Regions from separate parts of the Homo sapiens genome. Here regions 2, 3, 4, 5 and 6 are each linked to region 1. The links are contacts of gene promoters, found by promoter capture Hi-C in blood cells and fetal thymus (Javierre and others, 2016). All regions are on one chromosome and are shown on one strand. Each heading gives the region's core, a stretch centred on a gene start or on the middle of the fragment in contact. The rest is flanking DNA. Distances are from core to core; before and after follow the strand shown. Region 1 holds the start of EPB41L5 (erythrocyte membrane protein band 4.1 like 5). Region 2 overlaps LOC101927764 (a long non-coding RNA gene). Region 3 has its middle 46 kb from the start of INHBB. Region 4 overlaps TMEM177 (transmembrane protein 177). Region 5 overlaps LOC101927764 (a long non-coding RNA gene). Region 6 has its middle 15 kb from the start of TMEM177.

Region 1 (3,099 bases), core at 226-2,725:
TCTTAGCCTTTTCTTTATAACAAAGAAATTGTAATTAAATATCTGTTAATTATTATCTTTTTTACTGACTACTTCCCCCACTCACACACAAGGACAAAGACTTCGTCTGGCTTGTTCACTACTTTGGCCCAACAGCTGGCTTAACCCGCATCTCGCCTGACACACTAGAATGACACAGTGGAATTTTTGGATGGTAGGTTTATGTGGCTTCCAAAAAACAGTAGTTTCTACTCTAGTTCCTAACTAGAAGGATTTCCTTTAGAATCATAAAATGCAAATTTAAGCAATCCTATCAGAAGTTGGTTAAAAAAAGTACCCAAAACCCAAAAGTTAGTCATGAAATATGTATACTCTTACATGACTGGTGGCCACAATATGGTTGGTTAATTGCTTTTTGATAAAGCAATATAACATACAGCAAATGCCATTTAAGGTAACACTATATTTTGTCCCAGTATTCCCAATAAAGAAAATGCAAGCGAGTAATTCAACAGCAGTTACGCATATCGTTTTCGAATAATGTTAACCTATTTTCTAAAGCCTGCACAGCATATTACATGCACAAATAATCCAACAAGGTTAACTAGAGCTCAGCAACGGGTTATGTTAGAAACTGAGTTAATGCAGTTGTGGGTTACATTACAAATGTACACGGTTATGGGAATTTTCCCCGTAATTCTTTAAAAACTTTTAATATTAGTCTAAAATATTGCCAAACGTTTTAAGAGTTGGGTCTCGCTCTTAGGTAGAATTCGAGTAACCACAGACACAATTAACATTTACACACCAAAGAACCCATCATTAGCACGACAACCGTCCCGGGTGGGGGCGGGGCGGGACCTTCAGACCTCGTCTTTCATGGGAACACACCTGCCTCTCCTTTCCCAAGAGACTGAAGTTTTTCTCAAATACAGGTTAGCTCGAAAAGTCCACCAAGACAGTGACACAAACTCAGTTCGTTTTTCCCCTTCCCTTGCGACTTTTGTCTCTCCCGCTGGACGGCAGCCCAGCGGACCAGCGAGGGGTACCCGCGGCTCGGGGAGCGCGTCCGCTCGGCAAACATTAACCCGGCTGCCCCGGGCCCTCCGCCCCGGCCCGTCGCGCGGTATCGACCGAAACTCGGCGGCCCTGCCTCATTGGCCGCCGCCGCCCCTCCCTCCGGCGGGATTAATGCCCTGCCGGCCCGACGAGAGAGGGGCCGGCCGCCCTAGGGTCTGGGTGCGGCCCCCGCCCGCCTCCCCGGGGACAAGGCCGCTACCGCAGGCGCGGGCGAGGAAGGGTCCACTCGGCTAGGAGCGCAGCGGACTGTACTGCGGCGCCGCCGCCGGGCCTCGCGCTTACCTGAGCTGGGGACGGCGCAGCCCCGGCGACCAGAGCGGGGAAGAGCCGAGCAAGGCTGAGAAAGGGGCGGCTCCTCGGTAGACGCCGAGAAATGGCGCCCACAACGAGCCCACCGGCTCTAATCCCCGGAGGACCCCGACCTCCCGCCCGTCCACCCCTTAAAGCTCCCTCCCAGCTCCGCCCCCAGGGCGGAGCGCTCCGCTCTTAAACGGGCGATGACACCGCCCCGGAAATTGGCCGGCGCGGCGACTGGAGAGAAACCGGCGAGGCCGGGCCCGGCCGGGCTGGAACTAGCGCCAGCAGCCGGGCGTCCGCGGCTGGTTTAAAGGGGCGCTGCCGAAACCCAGTTCCCGCTGCGGCCCTCCGCCCGCGGAGGAGGCGCCCGTCCGCAGACAGACCCCAGTTAGTCCTATCACGAAGGAGGCTGGTGGAGCTGGCTGCTAGATTCATTCATCCATTCGTTCAAGAGATTAAATCCTTCGCAAATACTTATTGAGAGCCTGTCACGTATTTCCTCCCTTTTTCTCCTTTGTAGGGATTAAAATACATTTAAATCTCTGCTGTTAAAGTGACTTTCACTCTACTGGGGAAACAGTAAACAAATAGGTGTCACAAGGTGATTAAGTGTAAATGAGGAAAAATAAAACTGGGAAAGAGAAATAAAAGATTACTGCTTAGCAGAGTGTGGTCAGGAGGGTACTCTAACAAGGTGACATTCAGTCCGTTCATTCTACAGGTAATTGATTGAAGTGCCTACTTACTGTGAGTTCTGTGTTCTAGACACGAGATACGACAGACAACCAAGACAGACAAAAATCCTTCCCGGAGTTTACGTTATAGCAGGAATATAAACGAGACATAAAATAAACGAGATAAATTAGTGAAATTAAATACTGTCAGACATTGGTAAATGCTAAAAAGAAAAGTACAAGTAGGGAATAACCACAGGCAGTGAGGGTTTGCGATTTTACATAGCAGGTCACAATAAGAAGGTGGCATTTGGCTGGGCGCGGTGGCTCACTCCTGTAATCCCAACACTTTGGGAGGCCGAGGCGGGCGGATCACGAGGTCAGGAGATCGAGACCAGCCTGGCCAACACTGTGAAACTCCGTCTCCACTAAAAATACAAAAATTAGCTGAGCCTGGTGGCGTCCGACTGTAGTCCCAGCTACTCAGGAGGCTGAGGCAGGGGAATCGCTCGAACCCGGGAGGCGGAAGTTGCAGTGAGCCCAGATCACGCCACTGCACTCCAGCCTGGCGACAAAGCCAGACTCAGTCTCAAAAAAAAAAAAAAAGGTAGCATTTGAATGAAGACCTAGAGGAGGTGTGGGAGGAACCCTGTGGCCATCTGGGGAGAACCGAAGGGAACAGCAAGGGCAAAAGGCCCTGCAAGGGGACAGGTCTGTCTTTTCAAGGAAGTCCAGTGTGGCTAGAAGTGAGGAAGCAAGAGGAAGAGGAGGTGACAGTCAGAGAGGAAAGGGGTAAGATGTAGGGCCTTGTGGGCCCTGGCTAGAGCTCTGAGAGAGGTGGGGGAGCCACTGGAAGGTGTTACCTTGAGGACCCTCTGCTTGCTGAAATGAAAAGAGACAAATACTCATTGAGCTTCTTCTCGGGATTTGGCACTGCCCACTCCTCCACCACCCCAAAACGTAGTAGACAGGCTTGGCAGCTCATCTCTGCCCCATGTGGTGTTGGCTGGGCAGCTCAACAGGTGCTGGAGCTGCCAAGGTGGTTTCACTGGTCTGTGTGGCATCTCCG
Region 2 (2,781 bases), core at 158-2,657, 260 kb after region 1:
AATTTTCACTGGAAAAACCAACTAAGTTATCTAAATTATATTGTAGGCATTCAGCAAGTTATATACATTTTTATTCTTCAATCTGAATTTCCGGGAACACATTAAAACAAAAATTAAGGTTGTGCTTCACTCTTTTTAGGTTAACTTTCTCAGAATTAAAAGACAAACTGCCCATTATGAGTGAGACAAATGTCTCTTTCATCAAAATCAGTGACTTACAAAGTCTTGCAGTTGCTGGTTCAAGTTTACCACTTCTAGTTTCTAACTACTTTAGGTTCTTCTCCTGTCAATACTAGCACTAAGGATTATCGAAGTCACACAGTTTCGAACCCAACTTTTTTTTTTTTTTGAGACAGAGTCGCACTCTGCTGCCAGGCTGGAGTGCAGTGGCGCGATCTCGGCTCACTGCAAGCTCTGCCTCCCAGGTTCAAGCGATTCTCCTGCCTCAGCCTCCCAAGTAGCTGGGACTACAGGCACCCGCCACCACGCCTGGCTAATTTTTTTGTATTTTTAGTAGAGATGAGGTTTCACCATGTTAGCCAGGATGGTCTCGATCTCCTGACCTCGTGATCTGCACATCTTGGCCTCCCAAAGTGCTGGGATTACAGGCGTGAGCCACCGCGTCTGGCCTAGAACCCAACTTTCTATCTGAGCATCAGGTTTCAGAGAGAGAGAGAGAGAAAGAGAGACAGAGAGAGAGTTGTAGGTGGAGGGCAGGGCAAGGCTTAAATGTGAGGCTTAAATTTTGTGTGCCTCATTCCTTCTTATTGATGACAATCTGACTATTAGGCCAGTCCAAACAGGTCTATATACCTTCCTGAAATACACACCCAGGTGTCCTCTGGTGTGCAAAAGAAGATACTATAATAATAAGAAAATCACATATAAATGGAATTTTCAATTACAGGAACTTGAAAGTACAGATGAGTCATAAAGATTTAATCCAACAGGAATTTGTAGGCTGTTAAAATCAAATTTAGAATTAAGTGAAGGAATTTGGGAACAGGCAAAAGATATACATAATATTTGACAAATCAATCTCAGAGAACATCAATTTCCTTTATTGCCCCTACTTCTATACTGCTTGTTCTCAGATCCTTGTTAATCCTGGAAGCGCATCAAGGGGGTCAGCCTGTGTCTGTTGTGGGGTGTAGGGTCCAAAGAAATGCTCTTAGTCATTTTGTATTCACAATGATTCATTTCTTGGGAACTGATGAAAACTTATTCTAAAAGCCAAGTTGGGGTTGGGGGGAGAGAGAATAAGTACAAGTGCTCTGGCAGGCTAGAAATAACTTACAGAATCAATAGTTTCCAAGTTTCTGACAGAGCCAGGTTAAGGATGTTGGAATTGCAGCAGTTGTACCTACTTGCTAAAGCTGACACATACATCCTTAGACAAATGCACACTTACATTAAGGATGCTGAGTTGAATTGTCAAGGGTCCTCCATCCCAGGACTTAAAAAAAAGAGTCCTGGGAGAACAATTCTGATGCCCAACAAAAGGGAATAAATAAATTGAGCTATGGTTTAGCCATGCACACATAGAATGGTATTCAAGTATTACAAATAATGCTTATAAGTTTTACTGACATGAAAAAATACTTATGCAATATTAATTTAAAAACTGCAAAATTAGTATATGTAGTATTAGCTCTGCTTAAGAATGGCATGCATAGGGAGGGATGAACAGGTGCAGCACGGGATTTTGAAGGCAGGAAATTATTCTGTATGATACAATAATAGTGGATACACATCCGTATGCATTTGTTAAAACCCATTGAATGTACAACACAGTGAAACCTAATGCCAGCTCAAACTTAATGCATCAATATCAGCTCCTCAGTTGTAACAAACACACCACACTAATGCCTGATGTTAACAACAGGGGAAACCAGGTGAAAGGGGAGGGGAGAGGGAATGTATGGGAACTCTTTGTACTTTCTGCTCAATTTTTCTGCAAACCTAAAAGTGCTCTAGAAAATAAAGTCTAGTAATTTTTTTAAACTGTATTTTTAAAAGACTGAAGGGAAATACAACAAAATGTCAGCCAGAGTGTGCCATCCTATAAGATAGTGATAAGCTCAGATTTCCTGAGATCAAATTCTGTCTCCTCTACTTACTGCTTAGATTAAGTACTTGAACTGTCTGTGTTTCAGTTTCCCTGTCAATTAAAATGGGAATCATGATAGTACTTATCTCATAAATTTCTCCAGGAAATCCACATTATTTTGATAATTATGAAAAACTATATATGCATTGTATTATAAATTATATATATGGAAAGTTATGTGTGTATATAGTTTATATTAGTTGTCTATTGCTGCTTAGCAAGTTCCTTTGGCATAAAACCCCAGTAAACTGTTACCTCACAGCTTCTGTGGGTTGGGAAAGCGAGAGTAGCTTAGCTGGGCGGTTCTGGCTTAAGGTCTGCTGTAAAGTTGTGGCCAGGGCTGCTATCATCTGGAGCTGAAGGCCAGAATGGGGCTGGAGGATCTGTTTTTGAGATGGCTCACCGCATGGCTGGCCAGTTGGAAGGTGAAATTCTCCATAGTGCTGTTTGAGTGTTCTCACAACATGAGGGCTGGCTTCCTGCAGAGAAGGTGATCCCGGAGAGGGCAAGGTGGAAGCCTCCATAAGTTTTTACGCCCTAGCCTTGGAACTCACCATCATGCCTACAATATTCTATTTGTTACACAAGTCAGACATATACATTGTAGGAGAGAATGACATAAGGGTGTAAATACCAGGAGGCAAGGATTAGGACCATCGTGGAGGCTGGCT
Region 3 (2,954 bases), core at 150-2,649, 290 kb before region 1:
TGTTGTTGTTGTTGTTGTTGTTGTTTTGAGACAGAGTCTGGCTCTGACGCCCAGGCTGGAGTGCAGTGGCGCAATCTCAGCTCACTGCAAGCTCCGCCTCCCGGGTTCACACCATTCTCCTGCCTCAGCCTCCTGAGTAGCTGGGACTACAGGCGCCCGCCACCACGCCCGGCTAATTTTTTTTTGTATTTTTAGTAGAGACGGGGTTTCACTGTGTTAGCCAGGATGGTCTCGATCGCCTGACCTCATGATCCACCCGCCTCAGCCTCCCAAAGTGCTGGGATTACAGGTGTGAGCCACCGCGCCCAGCCGTAAGCTTGTTTTAACATGTGAAGTTGATGGACACTAACTTTCCCAAGGATTCCGGAACTTGAAAACTGTTTAGGTATCTGGTCCTTCTTCACTGCCACCTGAGAAGGCTTGTGGAGGCTGCACTGCGGAGAAGCAGCTTCACACTCCTGGCAGCTGGGGGCTCCGTTCCTGCTCCCAGGCCGCAGCACCTTCACCAACCTGGGTGGGAGGCCGAATCCTCAGCTTAGCCAGGTTTCTGTGCTTCTCAGACACGACCAGAGGCCCCATTCCGACTTGAGCTACGTGTGTGGCAATGAATCATCCTGACAGTACTGTCAGTGTGACTGAACACGTCTAGCTTGGTGGCACACAACTGAACAAGTAGAAATGAACAGCAAGCTGCGGTGTGTCAGGACAAGCTCTAGCACTTGAATTAGACAAAGGCTGGGGCGGAAGGGTGTTGGAGGAAGTCTCTTTTTTCATTCATATCTACTCAAATAGAGAAGAACAGCCTTAAACCCAAGGGCCCAAATTAGTTTTAAAACTTGTACTACATCCTTTCTAAAAAGTCCTCAAAGCGGGCCTCGTGTAGCAACTTACAAAAGGAAATCAGGAAGTCTGCACTGACAATATGCATTTTAAAAAGCAGCATCACCAAGGAGCAGGTAACTCACCAACTGCAGCTGGCAAGCAGGATCGTCCCAAACCTGAGAACAAAAAATCTACAAAACCGCTAACAGCACAGGTAAATTAACTTAGATTTGTTGACCATATAAAAACAAGAGAACATCCCAAGTCAGCTACATTTCAAAAAAGATAAGACAAAGGATGTACTACTCCACACGGGCAGTTCAGGTTGTTACCTGCACAGGTAATAAACTGATCACCAAGAGGTAAAAGCAAAACATATAAGTGAAATCAACACAGGCTTAGTGAAAACTCACAATTCCCTCACTTGAAAGTTGGTATCAGAAGACAACTGACCAGGCCGGTCATGGTGGCTCACACCTGTAATCCCAGCGCTTTGGGAGGCCAAGGCAGGCAGAACGCTTTAGCCCAGGAGTTCAAGACCAGTCTGGCAACATAGCAAGACCCCATCTCTGCAAAAGCATTTAAAAATTAGCCAGGCATGGTGGCGTGCATCTGTATTCCCAGCTACTGTGGAGACTGAGACGGAAGGATTGCTTGAGCCCAGGAGTTCAAGACTGCAGTGAGTCATGATTGCACTACTGCATTCCACCGTGGGTGGCCAAGCAGGACCCTGTCTCAAAAATTAAATAAAGACAACTGGCCAGACCCAGGTCTGACCCCAAATGCTGAGGTCCATACTCCTGGAGAACAGAGATTGCCATAGGCCCTCAAGTTCAAAATGACCCCTGCATAAAGTCAAATCAATGTGTTCACTCTAATCTTTATTTAACATTGATCTGCAAAAAAAGGAAATTTTAAGTATTTGTGACAATGAAACCAGGGCAAAATGGAAAGCTGAGCCCAAAAGTTAGTCTCCCCTGAAGCCTCTCTTCAAATAATAGTATTTAAAAAACCCAAAGGGCAAAGAGAATGGAAGGGTCACTAGCTGATGTGTGAATCTGACAAATTTACAGAAGCTGAAACCCAGACGTGAGCCGTTCGATAAGGAAGGATCTGTTGAGATGAGGGCAACAGGACCGGCTCAGTCTGAACCGGCAGATGGAGCAGCAGAACCACGGTGCGTGGCTAGAGAGCCTAGGTAGAGGTCTGTGTGGGACACGGTCCACCCCACCCCTGCAGGCAGCTCTGTCCATCACCAGTGCTTTTCTCTTGGAAGAAACTGCCTGGAGTGAACCAAGGCATCCAGCCTGGCCAATGGCCCCCAGAGCACACCTTCCCTCGATTAGGCATTAGGGGTTCCCAGCACTATGACTGGTTTTCTACCCATTCACCCCAAAGTCAAGCCTGCTATTTCACAAGCCCCACTCATGTACATGGAACTCCTGGCCGACTTTCTATTTCCTCCTAAGAATATGGCTGGACAAGCAGGAATCATTAGATACGTGAGAAAAACTGCAGCTTAAAAAATAAAGAAGAAAAAGTGAATAAAAATACAACTTTCAAAAGATCTAATATCCTTCAAAAGTCAAGATATTGAATCCGTAAGGCCGCCAAGAACAGTTGCTATGAAAAAGGAACAAATAAAGACAAAGAAAGCTTTTGTTCACACATACACACGGTGAGCAAGTGAGAAGACAAAGTTGATCCCACTAGTGTAAGCTTCCAAAGGGCAAGGAATTTGTCTGTTTTGCTCACTGCTCTATCTCAAGAACTTACAACAGTGCTTGGCAAAGTGCTTGGAAAAACACAGGGAGGGAGGATAAATTTGAGAGAAAATAAAGATGGAAAATATAGGAAATGGATGGAGCAGACATGAATCTAGGAGGTTCCAAAGGTGGTAACAGGAGCTCTGGAAGGAGAAAACAGAAGCGATCAAAGAATTTCAAAAATACTTTTTCTAGAGCTGAAGAGGCAGGAGTCTTCATTGGAAGCCTCTGCCGACTACCAAGCAGGATGAGTCACAAAACAGCCACACTTAAGATCCACAGCTGTGTTCATTTCAGACCCTGCAGATAAGGAGAAGGCCCCGATAACGGGAGAGAGGGAAAAGCCAGGGCCCCCACTGCAAAGGG
Region 4 (2,954 bases), core at 390-2,889, 330 kb after region 1:
TGGCCTGAGCCGGGCTGTGGAGGACTGGAGGATGCGAACAGTGCAGCAAGGCGGAGCAATGCACGCGCACACACACGCACACACATACACACGGCTGGAGGATGTGTGCGCCAAGGTTGGAGGGTAGCATGTAAGGCTTGTGTGAGGACTGGGAACAGCCTGTGAGTGGAGACAAGGTCTGTGACTTGGAGCAGAGGGAGCTGAGTAAGCAGCCTTTTCTCCCCATCGTGAGGCTGCCTTCGCTAATGGTTCGGGCAGATCAGCAGGAATGCCTGAAACCATCATGGCTCCTGCAGTACTGAGAGCAGATGGGTTGGGGGTGGGAGTGGTGAGAAAGTGGAGCCCATCAAATCCAGGCCCCAGACCGTACTGCTCAGGAATGAGGTGGCCTCACATGGCCTTGTGGCCCTTTAAGTACAGCAGCAGCAGGTGGGTGACACCCCAAGGGGCCCCATGAAATGGTGTGTCCCTGAGTGAAGACTGGTTCACCCAGCCACTGCCTCATCTATCCACCTATGTATTCCAAGCCCGTGCCCAGTGCCGTCCTAGGTACCAGGGCCTGGGGAATGAGCAAGGATGTGCTGCCCTCAGGAACTCAGCCTGTTCAGGTCCAGTGTGAGGACCCGTGAGCTGGCCCAGCACACTGAGCTCCAGCCCACAGTGAGGGGCCCAGCAGGGAGGTGTGCCATTCCCACTGCATTCTGCAGCCCCACTGGCTCACTCTCCTCTCCAGGTCTACTGCCAGGACCTGCCACCACTGTGTTCAAATACTTTCCCAGGGAAAACCTCATCTCCAACTAAAAGATGTCATGAAGCCAAATTGGGTCTGGCTCCCTGATCACAACTCTCCTCACCTTGCCCTGCTGTGGTCCTGTCCAAGGATCTAACCCAGGGGCCCGGCTCCATCCACCACCGGAGGGCTCAAGGGAAATAAGCAGGGCAGGGCTGCAGTCTCCCCTGGGTCCTGAGTGGGACCAGGCCTAACCCACTGCCCACCTCCACCCCTCTGCTCTCCTTGCTGACCCCTACGAGCCAAGCTTACCCCCACCTTGCTGCCTCTCCTCTCCAAGCCCTGGCCACGCTGTGCCTGGGGAGGCTGACAGCTCTGGATGGCGCCAGTGGGCTCCCTCCCTGCAGGGCCTCGGTCTTACAATGGTTTGTTCCTTCCTCTACATTTGAGTGAAGCTCTTGCCAAGTCTCCCATGCCACAGATCTCGGAGTTCTGGAACACCTCCCCTCCCCTCAGGTCCAGGGACTCTCCTGGCACGTGCTGGTCTCCTTCTCCCTGAGTGTGCCATCTGCATCCACGGGACCTTGACTGACACAACACTCTTAAGGCCCCCTCACCTTAAAACAGCCTCTCAGGACCACACTAACTTCTCATCTTGGGCTCTCTAGTCTTTTAACCTCTAACAGAGTGGAGGAAAATTGGGATTTGACCACCACTTAAATTGAGGGGTGGTTCTTCACTGTAGGAAAGTGTTCACATAACTGCTAGTACCCTGGTGTTGAGGTGTGCCCTGACTCCCACAGCCTGGTGGCACTCAAGACCAAGAAGGAGGCTGGGCGAGGTGGCTCACGCCTGTAATTCCAGCACTTTGAGAGCCTGAGGAGGGTGGATCACTTGAGCCCAGGAGTTTGAGGCTGCAGTGAGCTATGGTCACCACTGCAGTCCATCCCGGGCAACAGAGTGAGATGCTCTCAAAAAAAAAAAAAAAACGACCAAGAAGGAGGGATGTCTGTTTATTTACAGTGCACCCTTTGTGCCAGGCCCTTATGTTCATGACCTTACCCAACTCTACAATCTTGCAAGGCGGTTTACATCATCTCCACTTTACAGTTCAAGAAACAAAGGCTCAGATTCATAGCCCCTGAATAGTCCCTCATAGTCCCTGAGTTCATAAGTAGTGGTTATAGTACAATCTAAGCTATTTAATTCCAAAGCCAGTGATTTTTCTGGCCGTGAGCTATAGGTCCAAAGGCTCCAACAGGGCCCTCCAGACTCAATGGCAGGGTGGTGTCTGCACAAGCTGGAAGTGTCCTTGTGATGAGCCCATCAGGAGCGGCCCGGATTGAGCATCCCCCTCCACATCTGCAGCACAGAGTCCCGGCGGGTGGTGTAGGGTAAATGTTTGATTCGGAACAAGTGTCTGGGGACGATGTTCCCGCTGGGTGTATACAGCTTCTCCCCGTCTTTGCCCAAGAGACTGCGCAGGGCCAGGTTGCCCGACAGAAGCTTCTCATAGAACTCCACTCCACCACAGGCATAGGCTGCAGAGAGGGAGGCCGTGCGGCGGTCCAGCCAGGACTCCACGGCATGAGTGAGAGAATCCTGGGAGAAGGCGTAGGCCACAAAGCCTGCCACTGCTGCCACCAAGCTGAAGGCAGCCCGTAAATTCATGGGGCCTGCATGGAGCCCCAGGGTGTACTTGGCACCCACGCCCAGTGCCCAGGTCCCTGCCAGGCAAGCTGGGGCCAGCAGGGCGTGCACGGCAGTGGTACTGCTTTCCAGGTACACCACTTCCCTGGCCAAGGCGAACTTCTGGGCTTCACGGGACAAGGTCAGGGAAGCTCTCAGCCGGGCGCCTGCTGGGCTCCGCCAGTCCACTGTATGCCCATGTATGACCACGGGATGGTTAGTGTTGATCACTAGGTCTCCCAAGAAACTGGCAGGGATGCCCACCACAGCCCCAGCAGGGAGTCTTGGGAAGCCTGCACTCACAGGTTGGAAGGTGAAGGTGGTGAAGGGCTTGTAGCAATGGCCTGAAGGAACACCTATGTCCTGTAGCACCTCTTGGAAGAGGCTCTGCAGCTGTGGAGGGAGCGGAGCTGGCTGGCCCTGAGGCCAGTACTGGTAGAGCCATTGGACCACGGGATCCGGGAAGAGGTGGTACGAGATTGGAACTCCAAACAGGCCTGCACAGGAACCCACCAAGAGGCCTGTCCTGTGTCTC
Region 5 (2,738 bases), core at 54-2,553, 280 kb after region 1:
CGCCGTCTGCTGCCAGTCCTTGCAGAGACTGGACTGTAGCTCTGAGTGCATGATTTGTAGGCCAGGATCCTCCCCTGCCCCTGAGGCTGAGGCCAACATGGGGGGTGGCTGCCTTTAAGGCTGGTCTGGGATTGTCCATGTACTTACTGAGCCAAGGAGGAAGAACCAAAATAGATGCTGGGAGAAAGCAGAGGTCAGAGGCTCAGAGAGGCAAGTCCTGTGTCGGGCTGGAAGGGGATAGTAGAATTGGGGGTGTAGCGGGGGATGGTGTCAATAGCCAGTGGGAATGAGGACTAAGGGAAGAGCCCATCTCACAGGACTCCTGGGCCTAGCAAAGGGTAGGTGATCAATGACTATTTAAGTAATTAATAGTTCAGCAACAAAGGACAGTCTTGTGGGGGTAGGGGCAGCTCCTAAAAAGGGCTGTGGTAGGAAGGGTGGGGCAGGAAGGTCTATGTGGCTGAGCCCCTCTGGGACCCTCAAACTCCAGTGTCAAGTCTTCTGTCCTTTTGAGCCCAAGTGACACCACTGATTTTTTTTTTACTCTATCTTGAGGGAGAAGCAGGCCCCCCACAAAGGACATAAATCTCTACAGATGAGGATACCTCACTGGGCTTTTGTTTGTCAGCCAAAAAGGGAAAAGTAAGCATTTGTCTAATTTTCTCAAATTTTAACCAGCCAACAGGTTAGAGATCTTTTTTTTTCTTTTTGGCTTTTAAAATAACCTTTATTTTTTAAAAGTTAAGATGTGCATTATAGGAAACTGAAAAACGCAAGAAGCAAAGAACAAAGTCATTCACAATCACAGGCAGTTTATAGTTTGACATGCTCTTCTAGGTCCTGTGCGTGTGTAGGCACAACATCCAATTTTATGGCACTGAGATTGTACAGTATGTATCATGATTTTTCACACATCATGAATATTTACCAATTCAAAATCCTAAAGCTATATGAGTATTCTGATAACCAAGAATACACTACACCAACTCAAACTGTTAAAAGAAAATGTAATCCTGCCTTTCTTGGGACAAAAATTTCATGAGATCATGTTTTAAATGGAGAAAGAAAAAGGAGAAAGCCAGAAACTTGAATTCGCTCAATTACTCAGGAAACTTTAACCAAAAAGCTCAGACAAATTAAGGCTGACCTTAATTGATCTGTTTAGATGTTAACCTTTAGAAAAAATCTGTATACATACAAAGAGTATATACATTTGTGGCTTTGAACAAACATTTATGATTCACGGAAGGTGATGACTGCTTTGGCAAAATGGCATGGTTCAGTTTGAAGTCCAGCAGCTCTATTCATCCGTTGTGTGACCTTGGCACTTGGTCCCAGGGTCCCTTCCACCCTTTCTGGGTGAGTGCACAGAGGCGGACCAAAGTGCCAGTTCCAGACCCCATTTCTTGGCTGCTTGGCTCTTGAGGCACCCGACTTTCTGACTTGTCGGGGGCATCCAGGTTTGACGGCTTGGTTGGCCCTCAAGGATGCCTCTTGGCTGACTGGGTTCTGTTTTCTTTAGTTCTCAACTTTCCTTGGTTTCTTAATTTCAATGTTATGTCATCCCTTGGGATCCTGTTGGCCAGGCCCATCCCTGTAGGAGGGTTGACCTCAGCTTTCTTATTTTTCTCCCTTTCTTCCTTTCCTCCTTCACATGTAAGATGAGATGGTTGGACTGGACCAACTCTAGAATCCCTTCCCGCTCTGACTGCTCCATGGTCTGATGAAGGTGGCCACTGAGACATTTGGGCAGGGGCCCCTCTCGAAAACCATGGAGGTAGGCATGTGGTAACTCCCCCTGCTACGTCCATACAGCTATTCTCCTGTGAGAAGAGTTGAGATGGCTTTCTGCACAAAGTGAGAAAGCAAAAGAGCCAGACAGGACCCATGGGGGGAAAAAGGCAGGACAGAAAGCAGATAGCAAAACCAACCTGCCCTCCGAGGGCATGCCCGTCACACGCAGGGCTGCTTGCAAAGTGGGTTTTCGTCCTGTTCTCAGGCTTACAAGCAACTCATTGTCCTCAGAAAATAGCAGCTGCTTCTGGGGAGTATTCGGCATTGGGTGTGACTACTTAGGGGAGCGAGCTTTCAGCAGAAGGCCTGAGCCTTCGTCCGACAGGAAAGGAGGAAGTCATTCTGGGCAGGGGATTCGTTTTCTATTGCTGCTGTAACAAATTACCGCAAATGTAGCGGTTTCAAACAACATAATTTATCATTATACAGTTCTGCAGGTCAGACATGAGCCTCACTTGGACACAAGAATGCATTCTTTTCTGGAGATTCTAGGGGAGAATGCATTTTCTTGTCAGTTGGCAGAATTCAGTTCGACAAGGTTGTGGGACTGAAGTCCCCATTTCCTTGTTGGCTGTCACTGGGGGGGATCCCTTAGCTCCCCCCTGGAGGCCTCTCTCTTATCCTTGTCTATGAACCCTGATATCCCAGAACCAGCAGCAGGGCTCCTCCTCATGCTGCCACCTCTCTACCTTTCCTCAGTTTTCACCTCTCTCTCTCTCTCAGACCATGAGTGGGGAAGGTTCTCTACTTTTTTTTGTTTGTTTTGGAACGGAGTCTTGCTCTGTCGCCCAGGCTGGAGTGCAGTCACGTCATCTGGGCTCACTGCAACCTCCGCCTCCTGGGTTCAAGCAGTTCTCCTGCCTCAGCCTCCCTAGTAGCTGGGACTACAGGCACCCGCCACCACGCCCAGCTAATTTGTGTATTTTAGTAGAGATGGGGTTTCA
Region 6 (2,950 bases), core at 398-2,897, 350 kb after region 1:
CTTTTCAATTGTTTGGAATAGTTTCAGAAGGAATGATAGTACCAGCTCCTCTTTGTATTTCTGGTAGAATACAGCTGTGAATCCATCTGGTCCTGGGCTTTTTTTGATTGGTAGGCTATTAATTACTGCCTTACTTTTAGAACTTGTTATTGGTCTATTCAAGGATTCGACTTCTTCCTAGTGTAGTCTTGGGAGAGTGTATGTGTCCAGGAATTTATCCATTTCTTCCAGATTTTCTAGTTTATTTGCGTGGAGGTGTTTATAGTATTCTCTGATGGTAGTTTGTATTTCTGTGGGGTCAGTGGTGATATTCCCTTTGTAATTTTTTATTGTGTCTATTTGATTCTTCTCTCTTTTCTTCTTTGTTAGTCTAAAGTGGTCTATTTTGTTAATTTAAAAAAAACAGTTACTGGATTCATTTATTTTTTGGAGGGTTTTTCATGTCTCTATCTCCTTCAATTTTTCTCCGATCTTAGTTATTTCTTGTCTTATGCTAGCTTTTGGATTAATTTGTTCTTGCCTCTCTAGCTCTTTTAATTGTGATATTAGGGTGTCAATTTGAGATATTTCAAGCTTTCTGATGTGAGCATTTAGTGCTATAAATTTCCCTCTTCACACTGCTTTAGCTGTGTCCCAGAGAAGCTGGTATGTTGTCTCTTTGTTCTCGTTGGTTTCAAAGAAATTCTTGATATCTGCCTTAATTTCATGATTCACCCAGGAGTCATTCAGGAGCAGGTTGTTCAATCTCCAGGTAATTGTGTGGTTTTGAGTGAGTTTCTTAATCCTGAGTTCTAATTTGATTGCCCTGTGGCCTGAGAGACTGTTTGTTATGATTTCAGTTCTTTCGCATTTGCTGAGGAGGGTTTTACTTCCAGTTATGTGGTCGATTTTAGAATAAGTACCATGTGGCACTGAGAAGAATGTATATTCTGTTGATTTGAGTAGAGAGTTCTGTAGATGTCTACTAGGTCCACTTGATCCAAAGCTGAGTTCAAGTCCTGATTAGCCTTGTTAATTTTCTGTCTCATAGATCTGTCTAGTACTGACAGTGAGATGTTAATGTCTCCCCCTATTATTGCGTGGGAGTCTAAGTCTCTTCACAGGTCTCTAAGAACTTGTTTTATGAATCTGGGTGCTCCTGTATTGGGTGCATATATATTTAGAATAGCTAGCTCTTCTTGTTGAAGAAGAAGGGCACCTCAGCCTGAAGCAGGGGTGAGGACTTCTGGAAGGTGGGGGGTGGGGAGGTTTGGGTGCATAACAGATCCATTGGCACCCCAAGGATGGCCAGCTTGGAGCTTCAGGCAGTGGTGAGCTTGGGAGTAGCCTGTCCCTAGATTCAGCCTCAAATGAGGTCAACTTCCACCACCAGGGACAGTAAGCACAAAAAAAGCACCCCACATTTGGTGGGCCTCTAGCTTTTGAGATATTGACAGCTGGACCTGAGACAGGGCACACACTCTGTGTGTGTATATGTATTTGTGTGTGTGTGTGTGTGTGTGTGTATGTGTAAAGCTTGCACTATTGGTTATGGGGGTGTGTGGGAGGGATAAGCATTCTTTGACTACCTTATATATACACCTCAAAGTGCATTGCTTCCTTGAAAAGTCTTTTCACAGTGGTTTTAACAAACTTCCTGTAAACAGAGTATCAGAAATGAAATACTTTTCTAAGAACACACCACTTTTAGAGAATGGGTCACCAGACCCCTGGGTCCATGCCTTGGCCAAGATCTGATCAGGCTTTTTGGTGGTAAGAAGCAGAGTCACTTAAGCTTTTTCAGGACAGAGGTGGTTTTCAGGTTGGGCCCTGTTCCAGGGGCTGGCTGGGAACGGGGGCAGGAACTCAGCAATGGGTGTGCTTGGGTTCTATCCCAGCTTGCTTCTTGCTATCTCTTGGTGCATCTACTTTTTTCCTCGTGTTTTCCAAACACCAAAAACCCACTTCTTCTTTGCCTACAACTTCAGTCACTCATGGCCCATCGCAGCTGCCCCGCCCAATTTCTCCATTTTATAACTGTCCAGCTTCTGTCCTTGTTGCTAACTTGCTTGGTCTCTCTCTACTTCCTGGTCTAAATTCCTGAAAGAAGGGATAAGGTAAGCTCAGCCTGTCTTGTAATGCCAGACTATCAGTTTCTGGCCTGCCTGGCTTGCTCTGATGGGGCTCATGGTGAGGAGGAAGGGGAGGGGTGCTGTGGCTCTCCCTCACGGTAAGGGGCTGCCCATTTTCTTGGTGCTCCCAGGCCTCCTGCAAGATGTCCTCCAGGAGAGGTAGGTCTCCTTGCCTTCATGTTGAAACACCTCTCTGTGATGCCATCTAGTGAGAGAGAGCAGGAGGCCAGTGGTCTTAATCCAAAAGGGAAGGCTGCATGGTTTGGGCAAAGAGACCTGAGAGGGATGTCTCCATATCTTTGGAAGAGACATGAGTAGCCCTGGGCCAAGTCCATTCCCCTACCTTCAGGGAGTCCATACTCTAATCATCTCCACTCTTTAAACATTTACCGAAACCCATCCTCAAAACCCTGCTGGAAGAGAGAGACTTTGTGTGTGTGTGTGTGTGTGTGTGTGTGTGTGTGTGTTTTGAGAAAGAGTCTAACTCTGTCACCCAGGCTAGAGTGCAGTGGTGTGGCGATAATGGCTCACTGCAGCCTTGACCTCGTGAGTTCAAGCAGTTTTTCTACTTCAGCCTCTTGGGTAGCTGGGACTGCAAGCACGTGCCACCATGCTTGGCTAATTAATTTTTTTGTAGAGACGAAGTCTCACTATGTTGCCCAGGCTGGTCTCAAACTCCTGGGCTCAAGCGATGCTCCTGCCTTAGCCTCCCAAAGTGCTAAGGCACTTCAGACTGTGAGCCACCACGCCTGGCCTAGTGTTCTTTAGTGCAATGCTCCATCTCCTTCACCATCTGGAGAGTTCTCTTTCATGCATAGATCCCAACATAGCTATTGGAG

Evidence for each region. Contacts are between HindIII fragments. The CHiCAGO score rates a contact against its expected background, and 5 or more counts as called.
Region 2: a fragment that was not itself captured here is called in contact with the fragment with the promoter of EPB41L5 in region 1 in 10 of 17 cell types (total CD4 T cells, naive CD4 T cells, total CD8 T cells and 7 more); the score reaches 11.3 in total CD4 T cells.
Region 3: a fragment that was not itself captured here is called in contact with the fragment with the promoter of EPB41L5 in region 1 in 3 of 17 cell types (total B cells, non-activated CD4 T cells and naive CD4 T cells); the score reaches 6.1 in total B cells.
Region 4: a fragment that was not itself captured here is called in contact with the fragment with the promoter of EPB41L5 in region 1 in 3 of 17 cell types (total CD8 T cells, total CD4 T cells and non-activated CD4 T cells); the score reaches 5.9 in total CD8 T cells.
Region 5: a contact is called between a fragment that was not itself captured here and the fragment with the promoter of EPB41L5 in region 1, in 3 of 17 cell types (total B cells, naive CD8 T cells and non-activated CD4 T cells). The highest score is 7.3, in total B cells.
Region 6: a fragment that was not itself captured here is called in contact with the fragment with the promoter of EPB41L5 in region 1 in 2 of 17 cell types (total CD4 T cells and fetal thymus); the score reaches 6.5 in total CD4 T cells.

The regions. Positions count from the first base shown.
Region 1 is chr2:120,011,453-120,014,551 of GRCh38, reverse strand. EPB41L5 (erythrocyte membrane protein band 4.1 like 5) reads right to left here and starts at 1,475. Exons shown (of 25, transcript NM_020909.4): 1 at 1,342-1,475. LOC107985817 (a long non-coding RNA gene) reads right to left here. Exons shown (of 4, transcript XR_001739205.2): 3 at 2,894-2,912; 4 at 1,848-2,159. RefSeq lists a silencer at 1,130-1,299. The HindIII fragment of the contact is 11,072 bases long and covers 1-3,099 here.
Region 2 is chr2:119,747,969-119,750,749 of GRCh38, reverse strand. All of the region lies in intron 1 of LOC101927764 (a long non-coding RNA gene), which reads left to right. Among named protein-coding and RNA genes, the nearest start is that of PTPN4, 11 kb to the left of the region's middle. The HindIII fragment of the contact is 3,071 bases long and covers 1-2,781 here.
Region 3 is chr2:120,298,261-120,301,214 of GRCh38, reverse strand. No RefSeq gene overlaps it. Among named protein-coding and RNA genes, the nearest start is that of INHBB, 46 kb to the left of the region's middle. The HindIII fragment of the contact is 2,162 bases long and covers 319-2,480 here.
Region 4 is chr2:119,680,892-119,683,845 of GRCh38, reverse strand. It overlaps TMEM177 (transmembrane protein 177), which reads right to left. Exons shown (of 2, transcript NM_030577.3): 2 at 1,728-2,954. The coding sequence ends at 2,057. Among named protein-coding and RNA genes, the nearest start is that of TMEM177, 3.2 kb to the right of the region's middle. The HindIII fragment of the contact is 1,199 bases long and covers 1,040-2,238 here.
Region 5 is chr2:119,731,529-119,734,266 of GRCh38, reverse strand. The region is part of intron 1 of LOC101927764 (a long non-coding RNA gene); the gene reads left to right. Among named protein-coding and RNA genes, the nearest start is that of PTPN4, 27 kb to the left of the region's middle. The HindIII fragment of the contact is 5,353 bases long and covers 1-2,738 here.
Region 6 is chr2:119,662,677-119,665,626 of GRCh38, reverse strand. No RefSeq gene overlaps it. Among named protein-coding and RNA genes, the nearest start is that of TMEM177, 15 kb to the left of the region's middle. The HindIII fragment of the contact is 259 bases long and covers 1,518-1,776 here.